3 separate regions of the Homo sapiens genome follow, and all the other regions are linked to region 1. Evidence: promoter capture Hi-C in human tissues and cell types (Jung and others, 2019). All regions are on one chromosome and are shown on one strand. Each heading gives the region's core, a stretch centred on a gene start or on the middle of the fragment in contact. The rest is flanking DNA. Distances are from core to core; before and after follow the strand shown. Region 1 holds the start of PRDM2 (PR/SET domain 2). Region 2 has its middle 240 kb from the start of PRDM2. Region 3 has its middle 210 kb from the start of PRDM2.

Region 1 (3,121 bases), core at 354-2,853:
TGAGGTGATCTTCATTTGTTTACTATAACCGACTCGATCATCAGCTATAGCCTCATTCTTTTTTTTTTTTTTTTTTTTGATACTGAGTCTCGCTCTGTCACCCAGGCTGGAGAGCAGTGGGGCATCTTGGCTCACTGCCAGCTCCGCCTCCCGGGTTCACGCCATTCTCCTGCCTCAGCCTCCGGAGTAGCTGGGACTACAGGCGCCCGCCACCACGCCTGGCTAATTTTTTGTATTTTTAGTAGAGACGGGGTTTCACTGTGTTAGCCAGGATGGTCTCGATCTCCTGACCTCGTGATCCACCCGCCTCGGCCTCCCAATGTGCTGGGATTACAGGCTGAGCCACCGCGCCCGGCCTAGCCTCATTCTTTTACAATAAGATAACATGATATATGTTGATACAACACGTTTTCTTTCTTTTTTGAGATGGAGTCTGTCTCTGTCGCCCAGGCTGGCGAGCAGTGGGGCGATCTTGGCTCACTGCAAGCTCCGTCTCCTGGGTTCACGCCATTCTCCTGCCTCAGCCTCCGGAGTAGCTGGGACTACAGGCACCCGCCACGTCGGCCGGCTAAATTTTTGTAGTTTTAGTAGAGACGGGGTTTCACCGTGTTAGCCAGGATGGTCTCGATCTCCTGACCTCGTGATCCACCTGCCTTGGCCTCCCAAAGTGCTGGGATTACAGGCGTGAGCCACTGCGCCCGGCCAACACGTTTTCTTAAGATTAAACCTGTTACATAAATGATCGTTCATAATTTTTGGAAGCACACCTGCCCTTAGTATCCTGTTTTTCCACTGGGTGCTTTCTGCAGATGGCCAACGTAGCCATCACATTCGGATTCTTCCTGACTTCATTCTCAGAGGATTACTTTATCTTGAAGTGCTGAAGGCTCCAGGCACCATCTATAACGACAACTCCCAACTTTCCAGCTCATCTCCAGCCTGTGCTTCTCCCCGACTCAACTCATTTTCAACCACGTGCTAGGCCTCCACCCTTGGATGTCGAAGAGCCATCTCCAGTTCCACCCAGTTCATCTTCATCAGAACATCTATGAGTCGTCGTCTCTGCAGTCCATTTGTTTGCCCGCTTGGGAACAGCAAGCTCCTTAAGGGCAGGACTACTACCGCGCTCTCAGAGGCGCTGCACTGGAACATCGCGGGCACAGGGCAGCGTTGGTCACTGCTCCTGGGTACTAGGGCAGCAAATAAACCCAGCAGCTGCGTCTGTCTGCCTGGAGTTGGATCTTTTTGGTATAGATCCAAACGTAGAAGTATAAGGTCTACGTTTATGTACTTGTCAGATATTTAATGACCTCCAACGATAGACATGCCCCCCCAACACCTCCTTCAGTCTTTTTGATTCTTTGAGAATCTTTGAACCACGCAGGATCCTAGCCCTAGGGTGCGGTCGGACTTGCCGCGACGCCAGCCGCCGGGGTTCCTTCCCGAGGCGCCGCCATGGGATCCGCGGTGACCTACGAGGGGCGGCTGGGTGGTGGCCATTGGGCGACGGCGCAGGGTCAAGGGCCGGGCTCTGGGATCGTGGGGAGACCGGGGGTCCCGGAGCCCCCCAGCCCCGCAGGCCACTGCCTCGCCGCCCGACGTCACTTCCGACTGGAGTCAAGATGGCGGCGGCGCGGCCGCGGGCGCCGGGGCCGGCGAAACAGCGGCGGCGGCGGCGGCCCTCGGTGCTCTGAGGCGCTGGCGCGGCGGGCGCGGGTAAGGAGTGGCGCGGGTGGGCGGCCTCTGGGCTCGCGCCGGGACGCTGGTCCCTCCCCCCGAGGAGCGCGGCGGCGACGGCGGCGGCGACACGCTGGGGACCCGGCGCCGCAGGGATGGCCGGGTCGGCGGACGCGCCCCCTCAGAGGTCCCGGGCGTGCCGGGGGCCCCGGGACGAGGCGCGGGCCTCCGGGTCGGTGGCCCCGCGGGTGGGTGGCGGCGCCGGGCTCCTCCTTGTCGGCCGTGGGGTCCCTGCGGCGAAGTTCGGGATTCGGTTTGTCGCCGTGAAGAGCCGCGCGCCCCGCGGGGGACGCGTGCGGGCTGCAGAGACTGGCCGGGTGCGGGCGGCGGTGGGGCCACCTGGGGCCCCACGTGGGGCCGGGCGCCGTCCCAATTGTCAAGCCGCTGTGCTTTTCTCTTTTGTGTTCCCACTGAGTGTGTCTTGCACATTTGCACTCCAAATTTGTTTTGTGTCTTGCGTCTTTGTGTTTCCCAAATAGTTTTTGTGTGGTTTTAACCTGGAGATTGTCTCCCTCAATGTTCCCATAGACCCACGGGTGTATGTGTGTGTGTGCGCACGCGCGCGTGTGTGTGTGTTACAGACGTGCAACTCTGTTACTAATTTTGCTAATAAAGCTATCAATGAACCTCTTTTGATGGTGGTAAGTGAGACATGAAGTAAACCTAACAGGTCAGTGTCATTCCCCAAACCTTCGTGGTTCTTTCGATCCACGCGTGAGCCACCGACCCTCCGGGCTTGTAGCTTTGTGTCGGGCTGTGAGCTGCGGCAAAGACCCCATAGTTAACCGGGAAGTCCTGATTTCCTTAACTACGCAGCTGAAATTTCCCCTAACAGAAATTTCGTGCTGGCCCCTCACTTTTCTTTTAGTGTTGTATTGAGATTTTGGGTGTATTTGAGACGTGGAACGTCTTTTGCTGAATCCCAGTAGGTCCTTAGATCCCTTTAACCAGACACTAGAAGAATCATTTTTACCCCAGAACTCGACTAAAATGTTTAAGTTTTTGTTTACTCCAGGTTTATTAAAAGTGACCGAAACTTTTAACAACAAATGGAACTCTTCAATGATTTCTTTTACAATGGTACACACTTCGCCTCGGTTTGATCAGTTGTGTCCAAGTATTAGAAAAATGTAGGCCTTTTAAAAAAAAACATGATAGGAAATTTACATATATTAAGGAGGAGGAACTGAGACACACTGTCATACGTTCTTTTTTAGTAGGGTTCTGTGTTTTTGAGATGGTCCAAACTGCCCCATCACTCTTGAGGCTTCCGGACTAACACTTATTGGCCAAATTTTTACATGTAGAATCTTAGTTTAGCCTTGAGATGACCTTTAAAGATCATTTTTATTAAACCCCCTCATTTCGAGCTATGGAAACAAAT
Region 2 (3,121 bases), core at 174-2,673, 240 kb after region 1:
AAGCTGAACTGTTTTAATTCTCATTTTATGATGCAGAAAGTGATGCAAGAGACTTGTGTAAGGTGAAACAACTGGGAAGGGCAGAAACGGGGATTCAAACCCACTCAATCTGGCAACAGAGCCTGTGATCTTGACTGCTGTGCTATGCTGCCACCATCCTACTTAACAGAACGTTGGCTGTTTTCCAAGAACCTGGCCTTTGGGGATGCCATTTTATGGCTTAGAAGTGTGGGAGTGAAGAGGTTGGAGAGCTGGCCACCTATCTGCAGCTCACGGTTGGGAGGTTACATTTCCAGCAGAGAGCTTCAGCACTGGCCTATAAGCCACAAACACATGTGTAGTTGCATCTTGAATTAAGACAATCCCCGCTATAAATATTACAGTTTACAGCGTGGGGTAGTAGATGGAACATGAACTTCATAGTTTGGTTTGAATTTAGTAGCTGACAAAGTCACTACTGACTGGGCAAGCCACTTCACACCTCTGAGCCCCAGATTTCCCATTTCTAGAATGTGGATAATTACTTTTACATCCTAATGTGTGTGTGTGTGTGTGTGTGTGTGTGTGTGTGTGTGTAGAATCAGATAAATTATTTAATATATGTACATCATCAGAAAACTAGAATATATATACTAGAATATATATACTATTATATGATTTGTATATATCATTACATATCTGGTATGTGTATCTTATCCTAGTATTTATACTATATATTCTAGTTTCCTTTTTAAATTTTTATTTTTATAGATTTAGGTGGTACAAGTGCAGTTTTTTTTTTTTTTTGAGACAGAGTTTCAAGCTCTTGTTGCCCAGGCTGGGGTGCAATGGTGCGATCTCGGCACACCACAACCTCTGCCTCCCAGGTTCAAGCGATTCTCGTGCCTCAGCCTCCTGAGTACCTGGGATTACAGGCATGCACCACCATGCCTGGCTAATTTTTTTTTTGTATATTTAGTAGAGACAGAGTTTCTCCGTGTTGGTCAGGCTGGTCTCGAACTCCTGACTTCAGGTGATTCACCTGCCTTGGCCTCTCAAAGTGCTGGGATTACTGGCATGAGCCACCATGCCTGGCCTACAAGTGCAGTTTTGCTATATGGATATATTGTGTAGTGGTAAAGTCTGAGATTTTAATGTATCCATCACTTGAATAATGAACATTGTACTCAACAGGTAATTTTTCAACCCTTACCTCCCTCCCACTCTTCCACCTTTTGGAGTCTCCAAGGTCTGTTTTCCCACTGTTTATGTCCATGTGTACCCATTGTTTAGCTCTACTTAAAAGTGAGAACATGCACTATTTGACTTTCTGTTTCTGAATTATTTCACTTAGGATAATGGACTCCAGCTCTATTCTTGTTGCTGCAAAAGATATGATTTCATTCTTTTTAATGGCTGGGTAGTATTCCATGGTGTATGTATATGTGTACAGACTTAGGTTATGTCGATTTCATGACTTTGCTATTGTGAATAGGGCTGTGATGAACGTACTAGTGCAGGTGTCTTTTTATAAAGCAATTTCTTTTCCTTTGGGTAGATAGCCAGTAGTGGGATTGCTGAATCAAGCCATTACAACTGTGCAAGATGGTATCTCATTGTGATTTTAATTTGCATTTCTCTGATGATTAGTGATGTTGAGCATTTTTATGTATGTTTTTTGGCCACTTGTATATCTTCTTTTGAAAAATGTCCATTCATGTTTTTTCCCCACTTTTTTTTTCTTTTGTTTTTTTTTTTTTGAAATGGAGTCTCACTCTGTTGCCCAGGCTGGAGTGCAGTGGTGCAATCTCAGCTCACCATTACCTCTGCCTCCTGGGTTCAAGTGATTCTCCTGCCTCAGCCTCCTGAGTAGCTGGAATTACAGGCACATGCCACCACACCCGGCTAATTTTTTGTATTTTTAGTAGAGATGGGGTCACCATGTTAGTCAGGCTGGTCTTGAACTCCCGACCTCGTGATCCGCCTGCCTTGGCCACCCAAAGTGCTGGGATCACAGGCATGAGCCACCATGCCCAGCCATCCTTTGCCCACTTTTTAATGGTGTTATTTGTTGTTTTCCTTGATGAGTTGTTTGAGTTCCTTGTAGATCCTGGATATTAGTACTTTGTCAGATGCATAGTTTGCAAATATTTTCTCCCATTGCATAGGTTGTCTGTTTACTCTGTTGATTATTTCTTTTGCTATGCAGAAGCTTTTAGTTTAATTAAGTCTCATTTGTTTATTTTTGTTTTCGTTGCATTTGCTTTTGAGGACTTAGTCGTAAGTTCTTTGGCCTATACCAATGTCCAGAAGAGATTTTCCTAGGTTTTCTTCAAGGATTTTTAGAGTTTCAGGTCTTATATTTAAGTCTTTAATCCATCTTGAGTTAATTTTTGTGTATAGTGAGAGATATGGGTCCAGTTTTATTCTTTTGTAAATGGCTAACCAATTTTCCTAGCACCATTTATTGAATAGGGTGTCTTTCCTCAGTGTATATTTTTGTTGACTTTGTTAAAGATCAGCTGGTTGTAGGTATGTGGCTGTATTTCTGGGTTCTCTATTCTGTTCAATTGACCTATGTTTCTATTTTTATGCCAGTACCATGCTGTTATAAACTTGTAGTATCATTATAGTATAATTTGAAGTTAGATAATGTGATGTCTCCAGTTTTGTTATTTTTGCTTAGGAGTATTTTGGCTATTCAGACTCTTTTTTGGTTCCATGTGAATTTCAGGATTGTTTTTTCTAATTGAAATATGAAAAATGATGTTGATAATTTAATAGAAATCGCATTGAATCTGTAGATTGCTTTGGGCAGTATGGTCATTTTAAAAATATTGATTCTTCCAATCCATGAGCATGGAAGTTTTTTTCTGGTTTGTGTCACCTATGATGTCTTTCATCAGTGTTTTGTAGTTCTCCTTGTAGAGATCGTTCAGCTCCTTGGTTAAATGTATTCTAGGCACTTTCTTTTTAGCTATTATAAATGGGAATGAGTTCTTGATTTGGTTCTCTGCTTGATCATTCCTGGTGTATAGAAATGCTACTAATTTTTGTACATTGATTTTTTTACCCTGAAATTTTACTGAAGTCACTTATCAAATCTAGGAGTCTTTTGGAGGAGCCTTTAGGGTTTTCTAAG
Region 3 (3,121 bases), core at 372-2,871, 210 kb after region 1:
TATCCCTACAAGAGGAGAAGATGGGCATTGGCAGGGGGCATTTAGGTATAAACATTTCTTATGGAAGTACAAGGTTATTGATAATCTTAGTGTCCAGCCTTGAATTATGGGATTGGTGGACACACCAGTTAATTTCACTGGTTCTTAAGTACCAACAATAGCAACAATGTATCTGCAAGCTCAGAGTTCAGATAACATCGGGGGTGATTTCAATTAGGAGATAAGACAGTGTGAGTCTTTCTCCTTCCTGGGATGCCTGACAATAAAAGAAAAAGTCTGTAAACCTACGAAAGGCTGTGTTTTTTCAGGGGCAAGAGGGTGAGGAGGGAGGTATTGATTTCTCTCTCTTAGGTAGTGAGGAGGAGAGCTCCCGTCTAGCATTGGAAGGTGGGGGAGGTTGTGAATAAGGGGGAATCTGCCTGGATATGTTCTATCTCAGCCAGGGTTTCCCCCACAAAATGGTCTTCTTGCACCCTGCTTTGCCACCCACCTGTTCCTACACCCACATTTTCTTCAGAGAATTGCAAATCAATACTGAATATTGATTTGGGCTTATTTATTAATAAGCTTGGTCTTATTTAGGATAAAATAAAATAAGACCTTTCTTTCTTGGCTGCTTCTTATGATGAAGGCCTGGTTTAAAAATGTAGCAAGACGAATTAAGCATTTATGAGGGCAGAGTCCTCCTTCTGCTAGCCTTATGGAAAGATTTGGTCTGAGTTGAACCCTGAGAATAAGGTGGGTAATCTGTAGCGGTGGAAATGTAGAAGGGAGACCAGAGGCAGCTCTAGCCCCTCTTCTTGGCTGGCTTCAGGGAATCCGCTTCAAATGTTGAGGCTCATGGAGGCCTCGTTTAAACCCAGATGATGGTGGTCAATCTCACTCCTGAGTGGAGAAGGCTGATTAGGAAGGGCCCAGATGCCACTCCCAATAGCTGGCATTTGGACTGGATACTTTCAGTGGGGTCTGGTATGGTTTAGATCTGTGTCCCCATCCAAATCTCATGTTGAATGGTAACCCGCAATGTTGGAAGTGTGGCCTGGGGGGAGGTGATTGGATCATAAAGGCAAGTTCTTATGGTTTAACACTATCCTCCTTGATGCTGCTGCGGCGATAGTGAGTTCTCATGAGATCTGATTGTTTAAAAGTATGTGACACAGGCTGGGTGTGGTGGCTGACGCCTGTAATCCCAGCACTTTGGGAGGCTGAGGTGAGTGGATCACGAGGTCAGGAGATCGAGACCATCCTGGCCAACATGGTGAAACCTCATCTCTACTAAAAATACAAAAAATTAGCTGGGTGTGGTGGTGCATGCCTGTAATCCCAGCTACCCAGGAGGTTGAGGCAGGAGAATCGTCTGAACCAGGGAGTCGGAGGTTGCAGTGAGCTGAGATCATACCACCGCACTCCAGCCTGGCAACAGAGTGAGACTCTGTCTAAAAAAAAAAAAGTGTGTGTGACACCTCCCCCACCTTGCTCCTGCTTCACCATATAAAGTTCCTGGCTCCCCATTTGCCTTCTGCCCCAATTGCAAGTTTCCTGAGGCTTCCCCAGAAGCAGAGCGGATGCTAGCATCATGCTTCCTGTACAGCCTACAGAACCGTAGCCAATTAAACTCCTTTTCTTTATAAATTACCCATTCCCAGGTTTTTTCTTTTTTATAGTAATGTGAGAACAGACTAATATAGGGCCTAACTCCCACCCAATTTCCAGGTGCTTTCCCATAATAAGAAGAGATATGTAGGTGTGTTCGGCTGTTCTTGCACTGCTATAAAGAAATACCTGAGACTGGGTAATTTATAAAGAAAAGGGGTTTTATTGGCTCACAATTCTGTAGGCTGTACAGGAAGCATGGCGTCTTCTGTTTCTGGGAAGTCCCAGAAAGCTTCCAATCATGATGGAAGACAAAGGGGAAGGAGGTGCATGACATGGGGAAGACAGGAACAAGAGAGAGATGGAGGAAATGGCACACACTTTTGTTTTGTTTCATTTTGTTTTTGAGATGGAGTCTCGCTCTGTCACCCAGGCTGGAGTGCAATGGTGCCATCTCAGCTCACTGCAACCTCCACCTCCCGGGTTCAAGCAATTCTTCTGCCTCAGCCTCCCAAGCAACTGGAGTTACAGGTGCTCACCACCACGCCTGTCTCATTTTTGTATTTATGGTAGAGACGGTGTTTCACCATGTTGGCCAGGCTGGTCTCGATTTCCTGACCTCAGGTAATTCACCTGCCTCGGCCTCCCAAAGTGCTGGGATTACAGTCATGAGTCACTGTGCCTGGCTGGTGCCACACACTTATAAACAACCAGATCTTGGAGAACCCACTCACTTTCGGGATCCTGAAGTCAGCACCAAGCCATGAGGAATTTGTCCCCATGACCCAAACACCTCTTACCAGGCCCCACCTTCAGCACTGGGGAATCACAATTCAGCATGAGATTTGGGTGAGGACAAGTATCCAAACGATATCAGGAGAAACTATTATAATCCATCATGGTTGAGTCAGAAGAAATGAGATTCTCCTGTTTTCTGATGCTGAAGGAAGACATCACGTCCTTTGAGGTCTATATAAATTGTCCCACTTTGAAAATTTTCATTTTGAAACCTGCCTCACAACATACATCACCTGGGAGGCCAGACAGAAGCATTTTGAGTTTGCTGTATAATATCATTTAATGTATTAAATCCTTAGTCCTTAAATAAAAAATGTTATAAGGCATGATGCAGCTTGGCAGAAAGGGAAGTTGTGATTGATAAGGACAGTTATCTGCTGGAAGTTGGGGTTGGGTTTGGGCCCCCAGAAGTCCCTTCTAGGTGGTTCTAAGAAGTGAAGGATGTGGGTTTGGTGTCAGATTTGCATTCTGGCTGTGCTTGGCTATTTATTGATGTGTTATTTTGGACAAGTTTCTTTTTCCCCATTACTATTGTTTTAAATCTCTCTGAACCACGGCTTTTTATGTGAAGTGGAGATGGCAAGCCTCTAATGTAGGCACTATGAAGGTTATATTAAAATGCATGGAAAATGCTAGAGGACCATGTGCTTGGAGTAACACAAAGACCAGTGCTCACGATCAAAGGCAGCTTCCCAGCCGAGCACTGGGCTGCCCTGGGCACCCCCTTTAC

What was found. The method cuts DNA at HindIII sites, captures the fragments that hold promoters and counts their contacts. A contact is called where the count stands out against the background at its distance.
Region 2: a contact is called between a fragment that was not itself captured here and the fragment with the promoter of PRDM2 in region 1, in 2 of the 25 tissues and cell types used here (dorsolateral prefrontal cortex and mesenchymal stem cells).
Region 3: a fragment that was not itself captured here is called in contact with the fragment with the promoter of PRDM2 in region 1 in 2 of the 25 tissues and cell types used here (liver and mesenchymal stem cells).

The regions. Positions count from the first base shown.
Region 1 is chr1:13,698,585-13,701,705 of GRCh38, forward strand. It overlaps PRDM2 (PR/SET domain 2), which reads left to right and starts at 1,604. Exons shown (of 10, transcript NM_001393986.1): 1 at 1,604-1,716. RefSeq lists a silencer at 1,357-2,126. The HindIII fragment of the contact is 18,174 bases long and covers 1-3,121 here.
Region 2 is chr1:13,935,326-13,938,446 of GRCh38, forward strand. It overlaps a transcript of KAZN not described here. Among named protein-coding and RNA genes, the nearest start is that of PRDM2, 240 kb to the left of the region's middle. The HindIII fragment of the contact is 7,537 bases long and covers 1-3,121 here.
Region 3 is chr1:13,909,068-13,912,188 of GRCh38, forward strand. It overlaps a transcript of KAZN not described here. Among named protein-coding and RNA genes, the nearest start is that of PRDM2, 210 kb to the left of the region's middle. The HindIII fragment of the contact is 3,343 bases long and covers 1-3,121 here.